Linked DNA regions of Homo sapiens: regions 1, 2, 3, 4, 6 and 7 are each linked to region 5. The links are contacts of gene promoters, found by promoter capture Hi-C in blood cells and fetal thymus (Javierre and others, 2016). All regions are on one chromosome and are shown on one strand. The core of a region is centred on a gene start or on the middle of the fragment in contact, and the rest is flanking DNA. Distances in the headings are between cores, read along the strand shown.

Evidence for each region. Contacts are between HindIII fragments. The CHiCAGO score rates a contact against its expected background, and 5 or more counts as called.
Region 1: a contact is called between a fragment that was not itself captured here and the fragment with the promoter of PNPLA5 in region 5, in 4 of 17 cell types (total B cells, M1 macrophages, M0 macrophages and 1 more). The highest score is 6.5, in total B cells.
Region 2: a contact is called between a fragment that was not itself captured here and the fragment with the promoter of PNPLA5 in region 5, in 1 of 17 cell types (M2 macrophages). The highest score is 5.7, in M2 macrophages.
Region 3: a fragment that was not itself captured here is called in contact with the fragment with the promoter of PNPLA5 in region 5 in 3 of 17 cell types (total B cells, M0 macrophages and total CD4 T cells); the score reaches 7.2 in total B cells.
Region 4: a fragment that was not itself captured here is called in contact with the fragment with the promoter of PNPLA5 in region 5 in 4 of 17 cell types (M1 macrophages, M0 macrophages, endothelial precursors and 1 more); the score reaches 8.3 in M1 macrophages.
Region 6: a fragment that was not itself captured here is called in contact with the fragment with the promoter of PNPLA5 in region 5 in 1 of 17 cell types (endothelial precursors); the score reaches 5.0 in endothelial precursors.
Region 7: a fragment that was not itself captured here is called in contact with the fragment with the promoter of PNPLA5 in region 5 in 1 of 17 cell types (endothelial precursors); the score reaches 5.1 in endothelial precursors.

The regions. Positions count from the first base shown.
Region 1 is chr22:44,606,894-44,609,852 of GRCh38, reverse strand. It overlaps LINC00229 (long intergenic non-protein coding RNA 229), which reads left to right. Exons shown (of 5, transcript NR_044991.1): 4 at 2,805-2,922. Among named protein-coding and RNA genes, the nearest start is that of LINC00229, 17 kb to the left of the region's middle. RefSeq lists an enhancer at 1,945-2,650. The HindIII fragment of the contact is 1,562 bases long and covers 470-2,031 here.
Region 2 is chr22:44,574,337-44,577,368 of GRCh38, reverse strand. No RefSeq gene overlaps it. Among named protein-coding and RNA genes, the nearest start is that of LINC00207, 6.5 kb to the right of the region's middle. RefSeq lists an enhancer at 2,617-3,032. The HindIII fragment of the contact is 6,735 bases long and covers 1-3,032 here.
Region 3 is chr22:44,557,411-44,560,424 of GRCh38, reverse strand. No RefSeq gene overlaps it. Among named protein-coding and RNA genes, the nearest start is that of LINC00207, 10 kb to the left of the region's middle. The HindIII fragment of the contact is 2,757 bases long and covers 1-2,689 here.
Region 4 is chr22:43,247,046-43,249,973 of GRCh38, reverse strand. The region is part of intron 6 of SCUBE1 (signal peptide, CUB domain and EGF like domain containing 1); the gene reads left to right. Among named protein-coding and RNA genes, the nearest start is that of SCUBE1-AS1, 27 kb to the left of the region's middle. RefSeq lists an enhancer at 1,942-2,443. The HindIII fragment of the contact is 2,897 bases long and covers 1-2,718 here.
Region 5 is chr22:43,890,538-43,893,594 of GRCh38, reverse strand. PNPLA5 (patatin like domain 5, triacylglycerol lipase) reads left to right here and starts at 1,582. Exons shown (of 9, transcript NM_138814.4): 1 at 1,582-1,907; 2 at 2,301-2,533. The coding sequence starts at 1,715. The HindIII fragment of the contact is 5,727 bases long and covers 1-3,057 here.
Region 6 is chr22:43,217,149-43,220,149 of GRCh38, reverse strand. It overlaps SCUBE1 (signal peptide, CUB domain and EGF like domain containing 1), which reads left to right. Exons shown (of 22, transcript NM_173050.5): 15 at 1,692-1,895. Among named protein-coding and RNA genes, the nearest start is that of SCUBE1-AS2, 6.0 kb to the right of the region's middle. The HindIII fragment of the contact is 1,141 bases long and covers 1,081-2,221 here.
Region 7 is chr22:43,368,516-43,371,421 of GRCh38, reverse strand. No RefSeq gene overlaps it. Among named protein-coding and RNA genes, the nearest start is that of SCUBE1, 27 kb to the right of the region's middle. RefSeq lists an enhancer at 1,288-1,789. The HindIII fragment of the contact is 4,109 bases long and covers 1-2,906 here.

The sequences.
Region 1 (2,959 bases), core at 1-2,500, 720 kb before region 5:
CCAGCTCTCTTGAGTCCTGGGTTTTCCTACCTCTGATCTGGGGTGGGGCGTGGTGGCACCAGATCCTTCCTCTTTGAGCTCCACTGTTCCAGTGCCCACTGAGGGGCCGTCACGGGGTGATAGGGGTCGGGATGTGGTGGTACTCTGGACAGCTCCTAGGTGCTGGGCAGATGTGCAAGGGTTTCATTATTATGGACAAGCATTTGGAGAGCAGAGCCCAGCCTCCTGCAAGTGGGGATCTGTTCGGAGGGACAGCCTAAGACCCCCTCGGGGAAGGGCGCTGCCTGCAGAGCTACCAAGATGCTGGAAACCTTGGACTGGCCCGTGCATGAGGGTGATCTGCAGGGCCTGGCTGCTCTCTGCCGAGCCCTTAAGAAGGGATGGGGCCATGCCCAGGCATCTCTGTGTCCCCAGGGGCCCAAGGAAGGGGCTCCGTGAGGTTGGCCAAGCAGCCGAGTCATAAGAAGCTTCATTTATGGGGGACGGTGCTGCTTCCAGAACACACTCTCCTCCATCTCCTTAAGGGCAAACGACCTTATAAGGGAGTCCTGGCACCTTCCCAATTTTTCAGGCTCAAGAGAGGCTCCCTCAATGAGGCAAGCAGAGTCCCTGCCCAGAGCCCCCAACTCCACACCTCCCCAGGATGCAGGCCCAGGAGAGGCCCCCTCGATGAGGCGAGCAGAGTCCCTTCCCGGAGCCCCCCAACTCCACACCTCCCCAGGACGCAGGCCCAGGAGAGGCCACACCCTTGTTTCTCTCCTGCTTCCCCAGCATGGCCTCAAGAATGCGGGAAACAGTTCTGGAGACAGTCAGATGAGTGTCTCACTGGTATCTTCCCCTGCCCAAGGACCCCCGTACCCCACCTATCCCGCCCTCTCCAGGCTGAAGCCTCCAGGGCTGAAAGCCAGGCCACCGGTCTAGCACTTGGGGGGTCCAGGGGCCCCATCATACCCTCCCCTGCTGTCTTGTGGGGAACCAGGGTGGGAGCTGCCCTTGGAAGCAGTCCAGGAGAGGGGACACTCCCTCTGATTGTTATGCAAATTGCTGGGCTTCGCTGATTACCATACATGCATATTAATCCTGCCTGGGCTGGGATGGGACAGGCTGTCTGGGCCTCATGGCAGGCTGCTTCGGGGCTGGTTTGGGAGCAGTTGAAAAGCAAAGGAAAGGAGGCTGCCTCTCTCTGGCCCTGCTTAAGTGAAAGGTAGATGAGGGTTTTGTCTCCAGGGGCCCTGCTGGGTTCAAGGTGCCAGATGCCTGTGGAGCCCCAGGAGGGTGAAGCACTGGCAGGCACACCTGGTGGGCTTGGAGGTGGGGCATAAGGGTATCTGGCCCCAGGGCATCCTTAGCGTGGTGACTAGCGTACCCCGGGAAACAGGCGGATGGAGGGTGAGGGTCAGGGCAGGAGGAGTCCACTGCCGAACTGGAGCCTGGACAGAATGGGCTGGCCTGGAGGGCACCGGCGCTACTCTGCTGCCCAAGTTCCACACCTGGATTCTGATATCAGCAACGCTCTGGAAGGCAGGACAGAGCATCCCCATTCTACAGATGAGAATGCAGAGGCTCAGACAGGGGAAGAGGCTTCCCCGAGGCCACACAGCGGGAGAGGGCCGGCACTGGAGCCCAGGCCTGCCTCACCGAGGGGTCCCCTCAGGTCCGTTCTGTGTCATGGAGTGGGAGGCTGGCCTGACCTGACAGCCAGCAGGTGAGGGCTCAGCTCTGTCTCTCTGAGCTGGGAGAAGTTGTGGTTCCCCTGATATGTGTGGGTTTCCTCCCTGGGAGATGCGCAAATCATCACACCTGCCCACTCGGCCACCGTGAGGGTTAAACGACAGAGCTCTAGGAATATACCTCACTCTAGCTGTTGTTGCTGGTCCTGGGAGCGTAAGTCGGGCGGGGAAGGGAAATGGGGCATCACCAAGGGGTCCTCTAGCAGTGCCTTAGGATCGGGAGAGGCTGCTGTGGCTGGGACCCAGTCTCAGACATCCAGAGCCTTCAGAACTTAGGGGCCCCAAGGAAGTCACTGAAGCTTCGTTTGTGGGGGATGTTGCTGTTTCCAGAACACTCTCCCACCTCCTGGATTCCGTCGGGTGAGGTTTTAAAGTCATACTCACAGGTGCTGGGGGTGAGGATCTCAACCTGTTTAGGGGACCGCATTTGTACCCACACCTCCCTTCCCTGCCGCACCTGACCCTGTGCCCCTTTGCTGTCTAGAACCTTCCTTTCTGCCCCATTTCTGAGGCCCCTTCCCTCTGAATGCCCCTCCCAGGCCTCCTCTTGGCCGTGTGTGTTCGGGGCCTGTCCCGGCTGCCTCCGCTCTTTCTGTGCCTCTCTCTGGGTCAACTCAAATTCTGATGGCTCCTGGTATCTCCACGACCCCGACTCTCTCATCTGAGCCTCTGCCTGTGCCCTCCTGCAACCCCCATGCATCCTCAGCCTTGGCATCCCCCGAGGAAGCCCCGGGCCCCTCAGTTCACCGCAGGCTGAGCCTCCCATCTCCCCTGGGGCTGCCGTTTTAGCTGCCCAGGCCAGGCACTGGGCGCCATGTCTGACCCTCCTCCTCCTCCATCCCCATCCTCCTTCCCCACCACCGGCCATCCCTCTGCTCCACCCCTGCTCAGGTCTCGCCTCCTCCCTGGGCCCCTGCCTGCACCTGACTGTTCTGCAGCCTCCACTCTCCTCCCTGGCAGTTTGCTGATGTCAATGCTGCAGGTGGCCTAGGCACTGCTACCCCTGGGCGAGGGGGTCTCCGTTTTCCAAATCTTGCTTTTTCACCACTGGAGCCCACCTTCTTATCCTCTTAGGTTGCCACGAAACATCCAATATTTGAAAGTGTTCTATGGACCTCAAAGGGCAAGAGACACCTTAAAATGTTTGCTGGATGGCTGTAGGAGGGTAGAGCCCTGGTGGGCACACCTGGTGGTGAGCTTGGAGGCGGTAGGAGGGTAGAGCCCTGGCG
Region 2 (3,032 bases), core at 293-2,792, 680 kb before region 5:
AGTCTGCCCCTGTGTAGCATGCCTCTGGGATCTTACCTTCAACCGGCCTGGAGTTATTCCCAGGACCCAGCAGAGGAAATGGACGCGCCTGCTACTGTTTAGTTATTTGCTGGTCTCCCCAAGGGTTCTGTGTGCTAATGACAATGGCCTCCACTTTCCAAGGGCTCTGGGACAAGTGCAGGGCTGGGCACCTCCCCTGTCTGAGGTTGTCAATTCCTTACAACAAATCCAAGAGTCCGAGATTTCCTCGCCCTTCCGTAGATGAGATCGTGGAAGCACAGAGGTGGGAAGGGACTTGCTCAGGGTCACACGGCTGGTCCATGGAAGCAGGATCCCAGGCTAGGTTGGGCTGCTCCACCCTCTGTGCCGTGGTGTGATCCGGTGCCCATTTTCCCCACCTCTATGAGGACCAGGCTCCCTCTGAGATCGCCTGTTCGGTCCCCACATGCTCTGCAGGGAAAGTGGTCTCAGTTCTGGACAACCTCACTGAGTGGTTCTGGCCCATTTTCTGTCTTCAGGCTGGTGCCTCAGGGTTTCTAGGGCCTAGACTGCACCCCCAGTGAGAGAGGATCCCCCCAGCTTTGCACTCCTTTCTAGCAGACCACAGCTGGGCCACACGGGCACCTGGCTGCCCCACAGCTCCCTCAGTCTCCATCCCAGCTGGCTGCCCACACGCTTCTGCTCAGGGCTTGGCAAAATGGCCCTGCTCATCCAAAGCAGGCATCCTGCTGAGCCTCAGATGCCTGCAAGGCCAGTGAGGAGCTGTTCCTCCCACACACCTGGCCACACAGGACCCTGACTGCACAGGCCAGTGCCATCACAGCCTCCCCTTTCCCAGGGCTGGGGACCGACTCTCTCCTCTCTGCTCCAGCCACGGTGGCTTCCTGGCGTCCATCCAGTGCACCAAGCTCACTTCTGCCTCAGGGCCTTGGCACCTGCTGTCCCCTCTGCCTGTGATGCCATTGATCCAGTTACTCTTGTGCCCACTCCTTCTAATTTGGGCATCTTCCCAAATGCCACTTCCTTGTAGGGCTTTCCCTGGCCACCCCATCTCCCGTGGCCTCTCAGCACTTCACATCTCTCCTGACCGTTATCCTGTTCTAATCTCTTCTTAGCACATGGCAACACGTGCAGGTGCAGTACTTAATTTTCTTCTCTGCCTCCTCCTCTTCCTCCTCCTTCCTCTTCCTTCCGCCTCCTTCTCTTTCTCCTCCTTCTTTCTCTTACTCCTCCTCCTTCCTCTTCCTCCTCCCTCCTCCTCTACCTCCTCCCTCCTCCTCTTCCTCCTCCTCCTCTTCCTCCCTTTCCTCCTCTTCCTCCTCCCTCCTCCTCTTTTTCCCCCTCCTCCTCTTCCTCCTTCCTTCTTCCTCCCTCCTCCTCCTCTTTCTCCCCTTCTCCTCCTTCTCTTCCTCCCCTTCTTTCTCCTCCTCCTCTTCTTCCCTCTCCTCCCTCTTTTCTTCCTCTTCTTCCTCTTTCTCCTCCTCCCTTCTTGTTCCTCTTCCTCCCTCCTCCTCCTCTTTCTCCCTTTCTCCTCCCTCTCTTCCTCTCCTTCTTTCTCCTCTTTCTCCTCCCCCTCCTCCTCTTCTTTCCCCTTCCTCCTTCCCTTCTTCCTCTTCCTCCTTTCCCTCTTCCTCTTCCTCCTTTCCCTCCTCTGCTTCTCTCTTCTTCCTCCTCCTCCCTTCTTTCTTCTTCTCCTCCTCCTCTTCCTTCTCCCATCCCCCTTCTCCTTGTCATCCTCCTCCTCCTCTGTGTCCCAGCAGCACATTGGCTCCAGGAGAAGTTGCTCTTGTCTGCTCTGCCTGCTGCTGGGTGCTGGGCACCTAGAATCGTGCCTGCTCACAGTAAGTGCTGGGCGAGCGTTTACTGACTGAGCAGTTACATGTGCCTGGGGGTCTCGTGAGATGGAGGAAGAACAGATCTTGGTGCCAGACTCTATAAAACCGTGTGGCCTGGATGACTCACAGGGCCTCCCTGAACCCCAGCATCTATTTCTGTAAAATTGGGGAAAGGACACCAACCTGCCTCAAAGATTCCACTCCAGGTGGGACCTAGGTGGGAGGTGCCCAGCCCACAGGATGCAGGGCAGCTTACAACGCACCCTGGCTTCTCAGCCAGAGCCTCCCAGGCTCCCCACCTTAGCCTCCCACACACCACTCAGGCATCCACAACACATTTAATTTGATTTAGGGAGGGAAATCTCTATTTTTTCGGTGGTGTTAGCATTGACGGTCTATTTCCTGCTTGGGACTCAGTGCCGAGTTGGCATTAATGTAGAAAAATTAGTATTATCAGGGCTGCTTTCAGAGCCATCGCTCACACTGCAGCCCGTGACACGTTAATTAAACTTGATAAATGCTCTTGTCTAAAGATAACTTTTGAACAAAGGATCCAGTCACCTTATTAGCTGGCTACATGCTCTGGTAAATTGCCTGGGAGGCTTTTGGAACTCCCTAGGGCCTGTGGCTGGGGACCGCAGGGCTCTGTCTTGGGGAGAGGGCTTCTCGGCTCTCCCAGTTCTGGGGATGGGCAGTCGCGCTATGGCGGGGGCACCCTACACGTCCCAGGGGCTGGGGAGGGCACTGTGGACCTGGAGGGCAGGATGGGTGTCTCAACCCAGCTCCCACCGTGGGCTCCGTCCTCTTCCGATTTGCAGTTCCCTTCACAAGCCCCTTCCGGCTCAGCAGCCTGCCCTATCACCATAACAATCCCATCCCACATGAACCATCCATCAGGAAGCCCACCAATATGACGGCTGCCCCCGCTGTGGCGTGGTCCTTGGGGCCCATCCTGCAGTGGTGTCATCTTCATGCCATTCAGCTACCGGTCCTCCTCTCCCTCCTTCTCTTTCTCCTCCTTCATCCTCCTCCTCTTCTTCCTCCCCACCCCCAGTGATCTCGGCTCACTGCAACCTCTGCCTCCCAGGTTCAAGGGATTCTCCTGCCTTAGCTTCTCAAGTAGCTGGGGTTACAGGCTTGTACCAGCATGCATGGCTAATTTTTTTGTATTTTTAGTAGAGGCGGGATTTTGCCATG
Region 3 (3,014 bases), core at 62-2,561, 670 kb before region 5:
TAAAGAATGGAGGGTAACCCCTCAGGGTTATAGATGTAGGTATAGTCAGTTGTTTGGGTACCATTTGTTAAAAAGTTTTTTCTTTTCCTTAACTTGCTTTAGCACCTAAGGTAAAAAGAAATCAATTGACCGTATAAACATGAGTTTCCTTCTGGCCTCTATTCTGTTCTAGTGCTTTTATTTGTCTATGTTTATGCCATTATTGTACTGTCTTCACTATCATAACTTTATAGCAAGTCTTGAAATTATGTCGTAAAAGTCCTCCAAACTTATTTTTCTTTTTGAACTTTTTTTTTTGGCTATTCAATGTTTTCCAATTTCTGCATACGTTTTGGAATCAACTGTGATGCTTGTAAGATTCCAGAGGCCCTCACAGAAGCTAAGCAGATGTTGAAGCCGTGGTTGTACAGTCTGCAGAACCATGAGCCAATTAATTATCTTTTCTTTATGAATTATTCAGTCTCATGTATTTCTTTATAGCAATGCATGAGTGGTCTAACACAGAAACTGTACTGAGGAGTGGGTCTCAGGTGAGACTTTAGACCAGATGTGGGGCTTTTGAGTTAATGGTGGAATAAGTTAAGATTTCAGGGGACTATTGGGAAGGTATGATTGTATTTTGCAATGTGAGAAGGACATGAGATTTGGGGGCGCCAGGGGCAGAATGATGTAGTTTGGATATTTGTCCCCACTCAAATCTCACGTTGATTACCTTCAATGTTGCAGGTGGGGCCTGATGGGAGGTGATTGGATCATGGGGGTGGATCCCTTATGGCTTGGTGCTGTTCTCCGCGTAGTGAGTGCGTACTCATGAGACCTGCTTGTTTAAAAGTGTGTGTCGCGGCCTGGCGTGGTGGCTCACGCCTGTAATCCCAGCACTTTGGGAGGCCGAGGCGGGTGAATCACGAGGTCAAGAGTTCGAGATCAGCTTGGCCAATATGGTGAAACCCTGTCTCTACTAAAAAAAAAATACAAAAATTAGCTGGGCATGGTGGCACGTGCCCGTAGTCCCAGCTACTCGGGAGGCTGGGGCAGAAGAATCGCTTGGACCCATGAGGCGGAGGTTGCAGTGAGCAAAGATCGTGCCACTGCACTCCAGCCTGGGCAACAGAGTGAGACTCCATCTCCAAAAAAAAAAAATTAAAAAAAAAAAAAAAAAGGAAAAGTGTGCGTTGCTGCTCCCCCATCTCCTTTGCTCTGCTCTTGCCATGTGAGGTGCCTGCCTCTCCTTCACCTTCTGCTATGACTGCAAAGTTCCAGAGGTCCTTGACGGAAGCCAAGCAGATGTTGGTGCCATGCAGAATTGTGAGCCAATTCAACTTCTTTTCTTTATTTTTAAAAAAGAATCAACTTTTAACTTTAAAAATGACTGCTAGGGCTGGGCGCGGTGGCTGACACCTGTAATCTCAGCACTTTGGGAGGCCGAGGTGGGTGGATCACTTGAGGTCAGGAGTTCAAGACCAGCCTGAGCAATATGGTGAAACCCCGTCTCTACCAAAAATACAAAAAAATTAGCTGGGCGTGGTGGTGCGTGCCTGTAGTCCCAGTGACTCACAAGGCTGAGGCAGGAGGATTGCTTAAGCCCGGGAGACAGAGGTTGCAGTGAGCTGAGACTGTGCCACTGCCCTCCAGCTTGGGTGACAGAGTGAGACTGTCTGAAACAAAACAAAACAAAAAAAACAAATCAAAACAAAAAAAATGACTACTGAGATTAAATTATTTAAAAAACATTATCATTGAGCTATAATTGACATATAATAGATGACACACATTTAAAGTACACAGTTTAGTAAGTTATGAAGCGTGTGTTCATGTGTGGGCCATCGTCACAATCAAGACAATGGACATGAGCCTCAGCCCCAGGAGTTTTCCTCTGACTCTTCTGTTTCCTTAATGCCCAACCCACCCTGGCCCCTAGGCAATCACCGATTTGCTTTTTGCCACTATAGATTGGTTTGTCGAGATTTTGATTGGGATTGCATTGAATCATTAGATAAATTTGGGGCAAATTGCTATCTTATAAATATTGAATCTTCCAGTCAATGATCATGGTATCTCTCCCCGTTTGCTTATTTCGTCTTTATTTTATCTCAGTACACATTACTATTATTATTATTATTATCATTAGAGATGGAGCCTGGCTCCCAGGCTGGAGTGCAGTGGCATGATCTCTGCTCACTGCAGCCTCCACCTCCCGGGTTTCAGCTATTCTCCTACCTCAGCCTCCTGGGTAGCTGGGATTACAGGCACCCACCACCACACCTGGCTAATTTTTGTATTTTTTTATTAGTAGAGACAGGGTTTCATCATGTCGGCCAGGCTGGTCTCAAACTCCTGACCTCAGGTGATCCTCCCGCCTCGCCTCCCAAAGTATTAGTATTAGAGGCATGAGCCACTGTGCCTGGCCTGTACACATTATTTTATAGCCTTTAGTGTAGAGGCTTTACATGTATTTTATTAAATGTATTCCTAAGTATTTGATGTTTTTTATGGTATTGCAAAGGTATCACTTTTAATATCAGTCATTACAGTGTATAGAAATGTGTCTTTCTCTATTGCCTTTTTATCCTGTGACCTTGTTAAATTTGCTTTCTAGTAAAGCAGTTAAAAGATCCCTTAGCATTTCCAACATATATAATATTATCTGTGAATAAAGACAGGTCTATCTCTTTCTTTCCATTTGTAAGCTTAAACATTTTTTTTCCTGCTGAGTTTCCCTGGGCAGGCCCTCCAGTCTAATGTTGAAGAGAAAGCTCACATCCCTGCCTTGCTTTGAATCTTCGGGAGGAAGCATTTATTCTTCATGGTGATGTGTGATGCGAACTGTAGAATTTTGTTGAGCTTTGTTTGTACACACCTTCCATCAGGTTGCGGAAGTATCTTTTCATTCCTAGTTTGCTAAGAGTTTTTTCTGACAAATGACCGTTGAATTTTATCAAATGCTTTTTCTGCATCTGTGGAGCTGGTCATATGGGTTGTCACCTTTATTTTGTGAATCTTGATTCATCTTGTAA
Region 4 (2,928 bases), core at 21-2,520, 640 kb after region 5:
GTTGGGGCACTGAGGTGCAAAGCACCAGAAAGGGAAGCCGCCAGGGACAGATCTGCAGGTGAGCAGGCAGGGCCAGGTGGAGTCCCAGGCTTCCCCTGGCTTTTCCCCGCCCTTCTGCCCCTAGACCTGTCTCCCCAGCCATCCCGCCATCTATGTCCTGGCCACCCCCAGCCAAGCCCTCTGGGCCGCGTGGCTGCACTCAGGGCCCACTGTCCTGCTGGCAGGGGGAGAAGAGAGGAGCTTTCCCACTGCAGCTCACGGGGCTACAGCCTCACCCCTCTGAGCCCCGGGTTTCCCGTCCCCCAAATGGCCATGACCTGCTTCACCCTGCCAGGCTCAAAGGAGCTGGAAGGGAAAGAAAGGATGGAAGGGCCCAGCACACAGGCCAGAGCTTGGTAAGGGGCTGCTCATCCTGAGAAAAGCAGGCAGGGAGGCTGGAGAACTGGGAGGCCAGGGAAGACCGAGGAGAGTGGAGGCCACTGTGGAAATGGTGGCTGACACTTAGGGGGCACACACTGTGTCCCACACTGTCCCCAGCATCATTTAAGTGCACAGCCACCCTGAGCGGCATGGCCAATGTCACTTCTCATCGGGACATGTGCATTCCTGCTTCTCCCCGCTAGCTCCCCTCCACCCCAGCTCCCGTCCACCCCAGCTCCCCTCCACCCCGCCCGTACCTCCTCTTCTGCAGCGACCATCTCCAGGGTCCCGGGTGTCCCTGATTTCACCAATCTATGTCCCAGTCCCCACCCCGCACATTCACCCACTCCTGGAAGCCACCCTCTGCCTGTTCCTCTGGCCCTGCATGCTCAGCCTTTCCTGGACTCCCTGCCTCCAGGGGTCACATCCTCTTCTCTCTACCCAGGTGCCATCTTGGGTGGTTCTACCTGACAAAGGCTGCCTTTTGCTTGTCCTTCCTCCCCTGTCCCACCACTCACCCTTCCTCCACCAGCACCCCCTGACTGGGGGCAGAAGCTAGGTCTTTTCCAGCTTGGTGCCCCCCCTCAGGGCACAGCACAGGGCCTTGCCCAGAGCGGGAGCATGGGTGAGGCTAGTTGGCTCAGCACATGAATGAAGGCTTCCTGGAGGAGGTGCCCGGGGATGGATGGGGCCTCAGTGCCCAGGCAGGCAGGTATCCAGCTCAGAGAGAGGGCAGGCCCTGCAGCCTGGACGTGCTTGGAAGTGGGAAGGGACTCAGGCAGGTCTGAGTGCTGGTGAGGGAGGTGATATCACAGGGCCGCTCCCCAGGCCCAGTGCTCATCAGGTGGCCTGGCTGAAGGAAAGCGGGGGCAAGCCCCTCTCAAGTCGTGGCCTCCCTGCCCACTGAGCTCCAGGGACTGGGCTCCTGTTAGAGAAGGATCAGGTGGTCAGGCTACACCTCAGTCACTGGACTGGCTCCAAATATGGCTGGTGTCTGGTCAGCTGGGGCCCCCAGCCAGGTTGAGTCCTGGGCCCTGCCCTCAGTTGAGTCCCTCACTGTCTCACACTCACAGCTGGGGCTTGTAGGGGGAAGTAGGTGATGGCGACTCCGCTGTGCGGAGGGCTGGAGTGTGGGTGGAGTCGCAGTGCCAGGCAGGGCTTAGTAGAGAAAAGACGAGGGCTCGGGGCATTGCCTGGCCCAGATGGGAGGCTGAAGCCTAGAGGGGCTGTGGCCCACCCAGGCCACCTTGTGCGTTGGGCCTGGCACTCTTGGGTGGCCCTACCCCTCGCCCCCCAGCTTCCCTCCCACTGTACTCCATCCCAATGGAGGTGGGGCACACTTGACCCCCATCTGCTCCTTTTGGTCCTCAACTCTCATCTAATGTTTAAACATCCAAGACCACATCTCACTGCCTGCCCTGTTTCCTCTCTCCTAGATTCTGGCCCAGCCTCCCTGTCTCCCAGCCCCACCAGCTGTGAGGCCACGGCCAGAGCCCTCTTTGGCACAAATCTGAATAGGCTCCAGCCCTGCCTTAATCCTCCCCTAGGTTTCTTGGCCGCTGGTCTAAGTGGGCCCCAAAGCCCTTCGAGATGCAACCTCAGTGCCCTCTGTGACCTCCTGCCATTTTTGCTAATCCAGTCCTGACCCCCCGGCCCTGCAGGCCCACATGGTAATACTGATGTCCACTGGAGCTGTAATGGAAGGTGCCCAAGAACAGGGCACCCTCTTCACCTGCATTCTCAGGAGGAGCCCAAGTGTAAAAACAGGCCCGACCGGGCCCCTCTGCCACCCTGCCCGCTGGCTCCCTCTCACCCCACCTACCTGGGGGGCAACGGCCTGCTCCTCCTGCAGCCCTCCCCATCCAAGCCACCCTTGCCTCTCTCTAGTTGGATCCAGCTAAGGGCGGGCCAGGTGGTGACTGCAGGCCAAGGTTAGCCCTGACTTGACTGAGGAGTAGCAGGCAGCTCCCAGCAGCTCCCAGCAGCTCCCAGCTTCCTGAGGCGAGATTTCCTGGTCTGACCCAAGGAAGGTGGGTGGTTTCAGGTTGCTCAGCCAGGCTGTGTCATTGCTGTAAGGACCGTGCATTTGTTCTTAGAGCAGAGAAATCCGTGGTTGGAGCTTCACTCCAGTCAAGCACACGGTGATCCTTTCTGGTTATCCTGAGCCAGATTCTAGAGTCAGACCGGGGTTCAGTCCTGGCTTCCCCAGTCACTAGCTCCACCAGCACCCCAGGGCCAGCTCACATCTGAGCTTCAGTTTCTCATTTACAGAGATGGCTTCTAGTCTCTGGAGAAGCTTAGCTGAGGCACTGGACAGGCTGCACCTGGCCCTGTGTGTGGCCCGTAGCAGGTGCTCAGCCACTTTCCATCCTTTCCTTCTTCACCATCACTGGCCATGAGCATGTCACTAGGGCACTCTGGAATGCCAGGGAGGAACAAAAGCTTGATGGCAAGTCCCAGACAGTGAGACAAGAAGCCCGGAGCCAGCCTGGCCTCAGTCAGGTCATA
Region 5 (3,057 bases), core at 333-2,832:
GCTGGGGCTGGGTCCTTCCCGCAATGGAGATAGCCTGGGGTACCTGCCACCAGGTGGGTGAGTCTGTGCAGGCCCATGGTCTTTGAGGCAAGGATGCCGCCCCTGGTGTGGGATCAGCAAAGCCCGGTACCGCCCACCTCTGTGGGAGGGGAGGCTGGGCTGGCCTGTCCCAGGGTGCCTTCTGCACCCAGTGCCCATGGGCAAGCTGCCCTTCACTCCCAGGTCAAGGAAGAGGTAGGTGTGAGGCTAAGAGAAGCAGATCCTCCCACCTCTTCCTCCGAAAATGACCCACCCAGGCCATGGGCTGAGCATTCAGTCCACAAACACTGTGCCACACTTCTTCCAGGCACAGATGGAGGACCTGGCCCTCAAGGAGCTCACATGAGAAGGCACTGATATGTGCCATGTGATTAAAGCAGTAACACAGGGATGGGCGCAGTGGCTCCTGCCTGTAATCCCAGCACTTTGGGAGGCTGAGGTGGGCAGATCATCTGAGGCCAGGAGTTCGAGACCAGCCTGAGCAGCATGGTGAAACCCTGTCTCTACCGAAAATAACAAAAATTAGCTGGGCGTGGTGGTGCGTGCCTGTAGTCCCAGCTACTTGGGAGGCTGAGGCAGGATAATTGCTTGAACCTGGGAGGTGGTGGTTGCAGTAAGCCGAGATTGTGCCACTGCACCCCAGCCTGGGTGACAGAGTGAGACTCTGCCTCAAAATTAAATAAATAAATAAATAACATAGCGGTTGCCATTGATTGTGCGCCACTTGATTAAAACAATCACCGTAGTAACCATTGTTTGTGTGCTTATCCAGTGCCGGGCGCTATTCCAAACACGTTACTTGCATTAACTCTAATCCTTACCGGTCCTATGGAGTAAGTAATGTTATTATCCCCACTTGATGGATGAGAAAACTGAGGCACAGATCAGTTAAATTATCCAGGGTCACCAGCCAAGACATTCTGGAGCCAGAATTGGAGCCCAGACAGCCCTAATCACTACAAACCCAAGTTCTTGGAGCTTTGCAGTTTATAAAGCACTTTCCAATGGATTGATTAGGGGAGGAGGGAGGAGGTGGGATGTTTGAGCAGGCTGTAGTGGTAGGTGAGGCTTGGAGAGCGGGTGAGCCAGGGGAAGGTGCAGTGGTGCTGGCTGGAGCGGAGGCTGGCCCCGAGACCTCTCTTTCCCTCAAGTCCCTCCCTGGAACCAGCACAGCTGCGGACTTAAGCCTGGTTTGACCCCAAAGACCAGGTGTCCTGGGTCCGACTCTGCCACTTCCTGGCTGTCACCATCCTGGGCTGCGCCTCAGTTGCCTCATTTGCGTAATGAGGACTGGAATAACATCTGCCCAGACTACCAGAGATCAGGCAAGATTTGGTCCCACTCCCCTGCCGTGTCACCCAGAAATCTATGACCCGATGCGGATCCGGGGCGGGCGCGTGGGGGCGGCGCCAGCGTATACACAGCGCGCGGGCACTTCTGGGGCACACCTGGCGCACAACTGGAGTGGGGGCTGATCGCGACCCGGGGACTTCATTGGCTGGGGCGCAGGTGACGCAGCCCGGGGGCGGCGCAGGGAGCACCAGCACCAGCCCCAGCCCGGCTCCCTCCAGAGCCCACATTTGGGCCCAGCCCCGTCCAAGGCTGCATCCCGGCCCTATCCCGGGTCACGGAGTGACCCTTCCTCGTCCCGATCACCCCGCCCGGTCCACCCGCCATGGGCTTCTTAGAGGAGGAGGGCAGATGGAACCTGTCCTTCTCCGGCGCCGGCTACCTGGGCGCCCACCACGTGGGCGCCACCGAATGCCTGCGCCAGCGAGCCCCGCGCCTCCTCCAGGGCGCCCGCCGCATCTACGGTTCCTCGTCTGGGGCGCTCAACGCAGTCAGCATCGTCTGCGGCAAGTCGGTCGGTGAGTCCCGGACCGCGGGGGCGAAAAGGGGCGGGGACAGCTTAATGAAAGCGGATCGAGCCCAGAGACGCTGGTGCCTGGCGCTGTGCTCTGCGCCCTCTACCCCCGGCACAGCCTCATTTAATCCCATGAGAACACCGAGTGCTGGGGACTAGGTGACCCCCATTTGCAGAGGAGGGATCGTGGCTCAGAGCCAGAAACTCTGTTTCCCAGGTCGGCGGGGCAAAAAGTGAAAAGGTGAACGGATCATTTGAATCCGGGGCCGAGCCCAGAAATTCTGAGCTGGAGTGGGGAGGACCCCGCTCCCACTGCACCTAGGAGGGCAGTGGGGGTGTGGAGGGACTGGCAGGATCCCTGGGCGCTGAGGTCTCCCTTTCCCTGCCCCCACTGCAGACTTCTGCTGCTCCCACCTCCTGGGCATGGTTGGGCAGTTGGAGCGGCTGAGCCTAAGCATCCTGCACCCGGCCTACGCGCCCATCGAGCACGTCAAGCAGCAGCTGCAGGATGCTCTGCCCCCCGACGCCCACGTCCTGGCCTCCCAGCGGCTGGGCATTTCGCTGACCCGCTGGCCTGACGGACGCAACTTCTTGGTCACTGACTTCGCCACCTGCGATGAGCTCATCCAGGTGTGGGGCGGGGGGTGCCCAGGGCTTGGCTGGTGGGCGGGCTCCATCTAGTCCAGAGTGACATCCAGGTACTTCCCCGTCAGACGTTTCTGCAGGGGCGGAAGGAGGGAGGGCGGGTGGACCTGTTTGTAGGTGAGGAAACTGAGGCCCAGAGAGGGTCGGCAGGGTGGGTCTGGAGACTTTCCAGGTTGCTGCACACAGAAGGGTCTGGCTGGGGCCCGGCAGAGTCAGGCTGCTGAGTCAGGGCCCCCACAGGGACTGCTCTTTCCAGAGGGCAGCTGGCTAGCCCCAGCCTCCACCCCACTCCATCCTCCCGCCGCTTTTTGGCGGTGGGTTGACATTTATTGAACACCTATTATGTGCCAGTCACTATTCTAGGCACTGTGACTGTAACAGGGAGCAAAACAGACAGAAACCCTTGCCTTCCTGGGGCTTCTATGCTCAGTGGTTCTGGGGGGCAGGCGGTATCGATAATGAACTCATCTCCAAGTAAGGAGGTAAGGAACCATCCAGTATTGAAATGA
Region 6 (3,001 bases), core at 402-2,901, 670 kb after region 5:
GGACAAATAGGTGCAGCCCCCCTAGAATGGTTGAGCCAAGGATTGTCTTTCCTGGTTCCTGAAGGAGGTTCTAATGCTGGCTCGGGTGTCACAGCAGCACTTTGCTCTTGGCTATATGTGAGTGTCAACCTGTGAGTCGTTGATGTTGAAGAGATGGGATCTGTCAGCAGATAAGTGTGGTATGGGCCTGGCTGTGGGCTTGGGCGCTGTGGAAAGAAAAGTCCCCACCCAGGTAACACTCTCAGCCAGAGAGGCAGACGCACGTGCAAACCACCCATTGCCAGGTGGGACTCTCGGTGGTGGGGGCACAAGAACAAACAATGCATAGAACTGAGGTCTGCCCCCCACGGGAGGGCTTAGGAAATGTCTTAGTCTGGCTGGGCACACTGGCTCACGCCTGTAATCCCAGCAGTCTGGGAGGGCCAAAGTGGGTGGATCACTTGAGTTCAGGAGTTCAAGACCAGCCTGGCCAACATGGTGAAACCCTGTCTCTACTAAAAATACAAAAATTAGCCAGGTGTGGTGGCAGGCACCTGTAATCCCAGCTACTCAGGAGGCTGAGGCAGGAGAATCGCTTGAACCTGGGAGGCAGAGATTGCAGTGAGCTGAGATCGCGCCACTGTGCTCCAGCCTGGCGACGAGTGAGACTCTATCTCAAAAAAAAAAAAAGGAAATGTTTTAGTCTATTTGCGTTGCTAAAAGGAACACCTGAGGCTGCATAATTTATCAGGAAAAGAGCTTATTGGCTCTCGGCTCTGCAGGCTGTCCGAGAACACGGCAGCAGCATCTGCCTGGCGAGGCCTTAGGCTGCTTCTGCTCACGGAGGAAGGTGAAGAGCAGCTGGCATCACATAGCAAGAGTAAGGGAGCAAGAGAGAGGGGAGGGGGTGCCTATGTCTTCACCAGTCACATCTCGTGGCGACTAGTAGAGCCAGCAAGAACTGACTACCACACCAGGCCATTCATGAGGGACCTACCCCATGACCCAGACACCTCCCACCAGGCCCCACCCCCAGCATTAGGGATCAGATTTCAACATGAGGTTTGGAAGAGACAAATATTGAAACCATATCAGGAAGCTTTCCCAGAAGAGGTGCCATTTGAATGAGAGCTTAGAATCAAAGCTCACTGGGTGGAAAAGGTGGCAAGGAATGGCATTCAGGCAGAGGGAATAGAATAGGCAAAGGCACAGAGGTCAGAGAGAGGAGGAGGTGTCCAGGAAGCAGTAAGTAGGGCCAGGTGGCTAGACATTGGAATCCACAGGGAGTGTCAGAGTGGAGGGGATGAGGCTGGCAAGGCCATACGGGGCTGGACCTTGAAGGGCCTTGGATTCAAGGCCAGAGAGCTGGACACTATCCTGGGGACAGTGGCAGTCCCCAAGAGTCTTTGAGTGACAGAAAGGCGTTCTTGCCCCGTGAGTCGTACCCTGGGGGGTGATGTGGTGCAGTGGCAGCTGCCTGGATTGCACTCAGATCTGCTGCGTGGCCGTGGGCAGGCCCTGCCTCCCAGGTCCGCAGCCTCCTCATCTGTCAGATGGGCATGACAGTGGCCCCTTGCCCCAGGACTGTTGTGAGAATGTGCTGAGGAGGTCCGAGCCCAGTGCAGGGCCTGGCACGGGGGAGCCCTCAGCTAAGAAGGCAGCGGCTAGCAAGGTTGCCAGCGATTCATGTTCTGTCTCTCCTGCCCCTGCAGACACATGCGAAGCGGACTGCTTGCGGAAGCGAGCAGAACAGAGCCTGCAGGCCGCCATCAAGACCCTGCGCAAGTCCATCGGCCGGCAGCAGTTCTATGTCCAGGTCTCAGGCACTGAGTACGAGGTAGCCCAGAGGCCAGCCAAGGCGCTGGAGGGGCAGGGGGCATGTGGCGCAGGCCAGGTGCTACAGGACAGCAAATGCGGTGAGTCCTTGCCCATGGCCACTCAGATGCTGACTCTGTCCTTCCTTGCACATGAGCCGGGGTAAACAGTGGTGGGCACGCAGGTGAGACAGACACCTGGGGAGGGGACAGAGAGATGCAGAGGCCTGCCGGGGAGAAGGACTGCAGCCCTCATGGTCATCACTGTCATTTGAAGAGCACTCCTCTGTGCTGGGCCTCGGGCATGTGATCACAGTCTGAGGAGGGACAAGGAGTGGACAGGACAGCAAGGCCACAGTCGAGGGGCGCGAGGGGGCACGGGAACCAGAACAGGCCCTCTCTAGTCTGGGATGTGGTTCAGGGAAGCTTCCTGGAGGAGAAGTCACGTTAGCTAAGACCTCAGGGCTCCAGGAGTTGGGGAGCCTGAGTCAGGGTCGGGGGACAGAGCAGGGATGTCGTGAGGCCTAGGGCCGCCCAGGAGGGCAGCGTCGTGCTGCAGGGAAGCAGGTGAGGCCGGCCCCCAGCGGGCGGGTGTGCGCTGGAGGGGAGAGCCTGGACGCAGGACAGGCAGAACCAGCACACGAGACAGTCCTAGTTCTAGTGGAGCTCACATGCCCGTGCGGAAGATGGACAGTGGGCCAGTGAACATGCCCACAGGTACAGTGAGGCCAGAGGTGATGGGGCCTGGCAGACACCACTCTTGAGTTGGATGGGGAGCCATAGGAATGCTTAGAGCAAGGACGCAGGCTCATGCGCGCTCTTACGGGAAGGCTGAGTAGCGGGGGCGGAGCAAGGACGGGGAGGAGCATGAGATGGAGGGGGCTCCTAGGGAGAGACAGACTTCAAGGACGACTCCAAGGGTTTGGCCAATTGGGCAGAGGTGGTATCGCTTCCTGACGCCGGCCAAATCCCCAAGGATTTGAGGAAGAGTGGGCTGGGGGGAGGGAAACTTGATGAAGAGTGGGCTGCGGGGATGGGGTGCGCAGGCTGGACATGTTCAGTCTGAGACGCTCACAAGTCATCCACATGGAGATGTTGGATGGGCAGTTGCAGCCACAAGTCCGAAGCCTCAAACAATAGGGTTGGCCAGGGGTGTAAACTGGGAAGCCGGAGGAGAAGAAATGATACCTGGCGGGGGAGGAGGGAAG
Region 7 (2,906 bases), core at 399-2,898, 520 kb after region 5:
GGCATGGGGCACCAGGCTCCAGCTTCCCTGGGCAGATGGGCGTGAAGACCCCAGTGCATCTCGAAGCCCTGCGAGGAAAGGGCAGGACTGAACTAGCAACAATTGTCTAGAGAACGATGCAAAGGAGAAACCACGAAAATGATTTGCTGGGGTCGGGGTAGGGAGTGCGACTGTGCGGAAAAGGTTGACAAAGAGGACAGTCATTTATTTGCTGCTGGAAGCCATTTACATGAATTGACTCATTGAAAGCAAGGCCAGGTAGAAGGCAATCAACCAAGAGGCTGAAGAATTTGTCCAGGATCACACAGCTAAGTGGCAGAAGGAGGACTAGAACCCGGAAAAGTGGCTTAGAACTCCATGCCCTTCACCACTGACAATGCTGGTGTCCTAAAAACAGGTCTGAGGGTGGGGGGCAGGTGCGCACAGTGAGTAGGGGTCAGGAGGCAGCGATATCCTCACCTTCCAGAAACAGAGGTCAACCAATGAGGCTGACAACTAAAAAAAAAAAAAATCAAGATGGAGTCTCAGAGGCCAGGCAGAGTGGCTCATGCCTGTAATCCCAGCACTTTGGGAGGCTGAGGCAGGCAGATCACCTGAGGTCAGGAGTTCAAGACCAGCCTGAGCAACATGGCAAAACCCCACCTGTACTAAAAATACAAAAATCAGCCAGGTGTGGTGGCGGGCGCCTGTAATCCCAGCTACTCAAGAGGCTGAGGCAGGAAAATCACTTGAACCCAGGAGGAAGAGATTACAATAAGCCGAGATCATGCCACTGCACTCCAGTCTGGGCGACAGAGCAAAGACTCCGTCACAAAAAAAAAAAAAAAAAGATGCAGTCTCAGAGGCAAATGACACAGGGTAAAAACAAAATAATTGGTTAAAGGAGGTGAAATAGTTGCCTCTGGGGAGGGGACAGGAGGGGGTGAAGGACAGGAACAGGGAACTGCTGTTCCTCTTAACAAACCTTGTAGAGCTATTTGCCTGTATAAGTTTCATGAAAATAAAAGCTAAAAATAAAGAGAAGAAATAAACACTGTTCCCGGATCCTAGACAGAGCCTGCAAGCCAGGGCTGCCAGGTGAGGCCCCGGGGACGGGGTAGCCATGGCTTTTCCTGTTTGCCCTGGAGACTTTGTCTTTGACTTGGGAGACACCCTCTGGCCCTCCAACACCAAGCACGGTGGTTGGGGGTTGGGGGTGGTTCCCCGTGTGAGTTACGGCCCCAGATTGGTTGACGATCCCAGCAGGGAGGGAATCGCCTGCCTGTGGAAGACCCCAGCTGCACCAATCTTCCTGCTCATTCAGGGGCTGCTGGGCTTGACCTATCGATGTCAGTTGCAAATGAGGGGTCCTCCCACAGCTGCTCAGCCAGCCCCTCATCTGAGACCCGTGCTCCAAAAAAGAAGCTGGGGCGGCAGAGGGCTGTCACCTCACACGCTAATGACATGGGCACGGACATAAGAGGCCCCCAAGAGACACACCAAGCACCTGAGGTCACAGAGACAAAGTAGAATCCACAGAGCAGTGGTGCCCCAGGGAGGCAGGAGACCCTCATCCCATCTCCAATCCCACCCTGGTCCCCACTCCCCAGTCCAGATGGGACTCCCTGCCTCTTTCCCAGATGTCCCCCACACTGACTCACTGTGGGCGGCAGCTTTTACGTAAGAGGGCCAAGTGATGGCCCCCACAACAGATCATCTGAGGCTGAGTATTAGACACCACTGCATATCCACCACGCCCCTCTTTTTCTCTTCCTGTCAAACTCAGTAATGGAGACAACCTCCTTCCTCTGGGAGTTTCAGATGCAGAGGCAAACTTTTCCCTCTCACAGCTATGATAACGGTGTCGTCTCATCTGGCCCTTAGCAATTTTTGAACCCCAGCACATCCAGCTAGTGGAATTAATACTTCTCAGGGTTCCTTCGAGGGCCAAATGAATCATGCAGGCTGGGGTATTTTGGGAAATAAAAGGGTGAGAAATCCAAAGAATATTTTGAGAAATGTGCGCAATCAGCCCTCTCAGATGTTCAAATAGATGATTAAGTCTCTGATTAAACAGCAGAGCTGGCATGAATGGAACTGACCAGAGAGCAGAGAAATGTTCTCATGTACATGAATTTAATACATGACCAAGCTGTCTTCAGTGGGCAAAGAACAATGGAAGGAGTAGCCAATATAAAAGCAGCTTGGGGGTCGGGCGCAGTGGCTCACACCTGTAATCCCACCACTTTGGGAGGCCGAGGCAGGTGGATCACCTGAGGTCAGGTGTTCAAGACCAGCCTGACCAACATGCAGAAACCCCGTCTCTACTAAAAATACAAAATTAGCCAGGCGTGGTGGTGCATGCCTGCAATTCCAGCTACTTGGGAGGCTGAGGCAGGAGAATCGCTTGAACCGGGGAGGCGGAGGTTGCAGTGAGCCAAGATCACACCATTGCACTCAGCCTAGGCAAAAAGAACAGAACTCCATCTCAAAAAAAAAAAAAAATCAGCTTGGATGCCTTCTTCATATCTTTCACAGATGCTGAAAAAAATAAATTATTTATCAAGCAAAGCAAACCCTAGGAGGGCTGGTCAAAAATATAAGTGAATATTAACCAGATCTCAGGAGGAATGGGAAGTCTTCGAGCTTTAAAATCATTAAGGAGATTTTTTTTTTGAGGAGAAGCAAAAGTGATTGACGACTATATAAAAACAAAAAACAAATCTCCCATACCACAGAATAAAAAACTAATGGGGGTAGAGGGGAACTAAATTGACAACCAAATGAATGGCAAAGGGTTAATATCAATAATCTGTGAAAACACTACACTGGCTGGTAAGAAAAGCCTTAAACCAACAGGGTTTTTATTTTCTTTTATTTTTTGGAACTTGACGAAATGATACCAAATTTCATCTGGAAAAATAAAC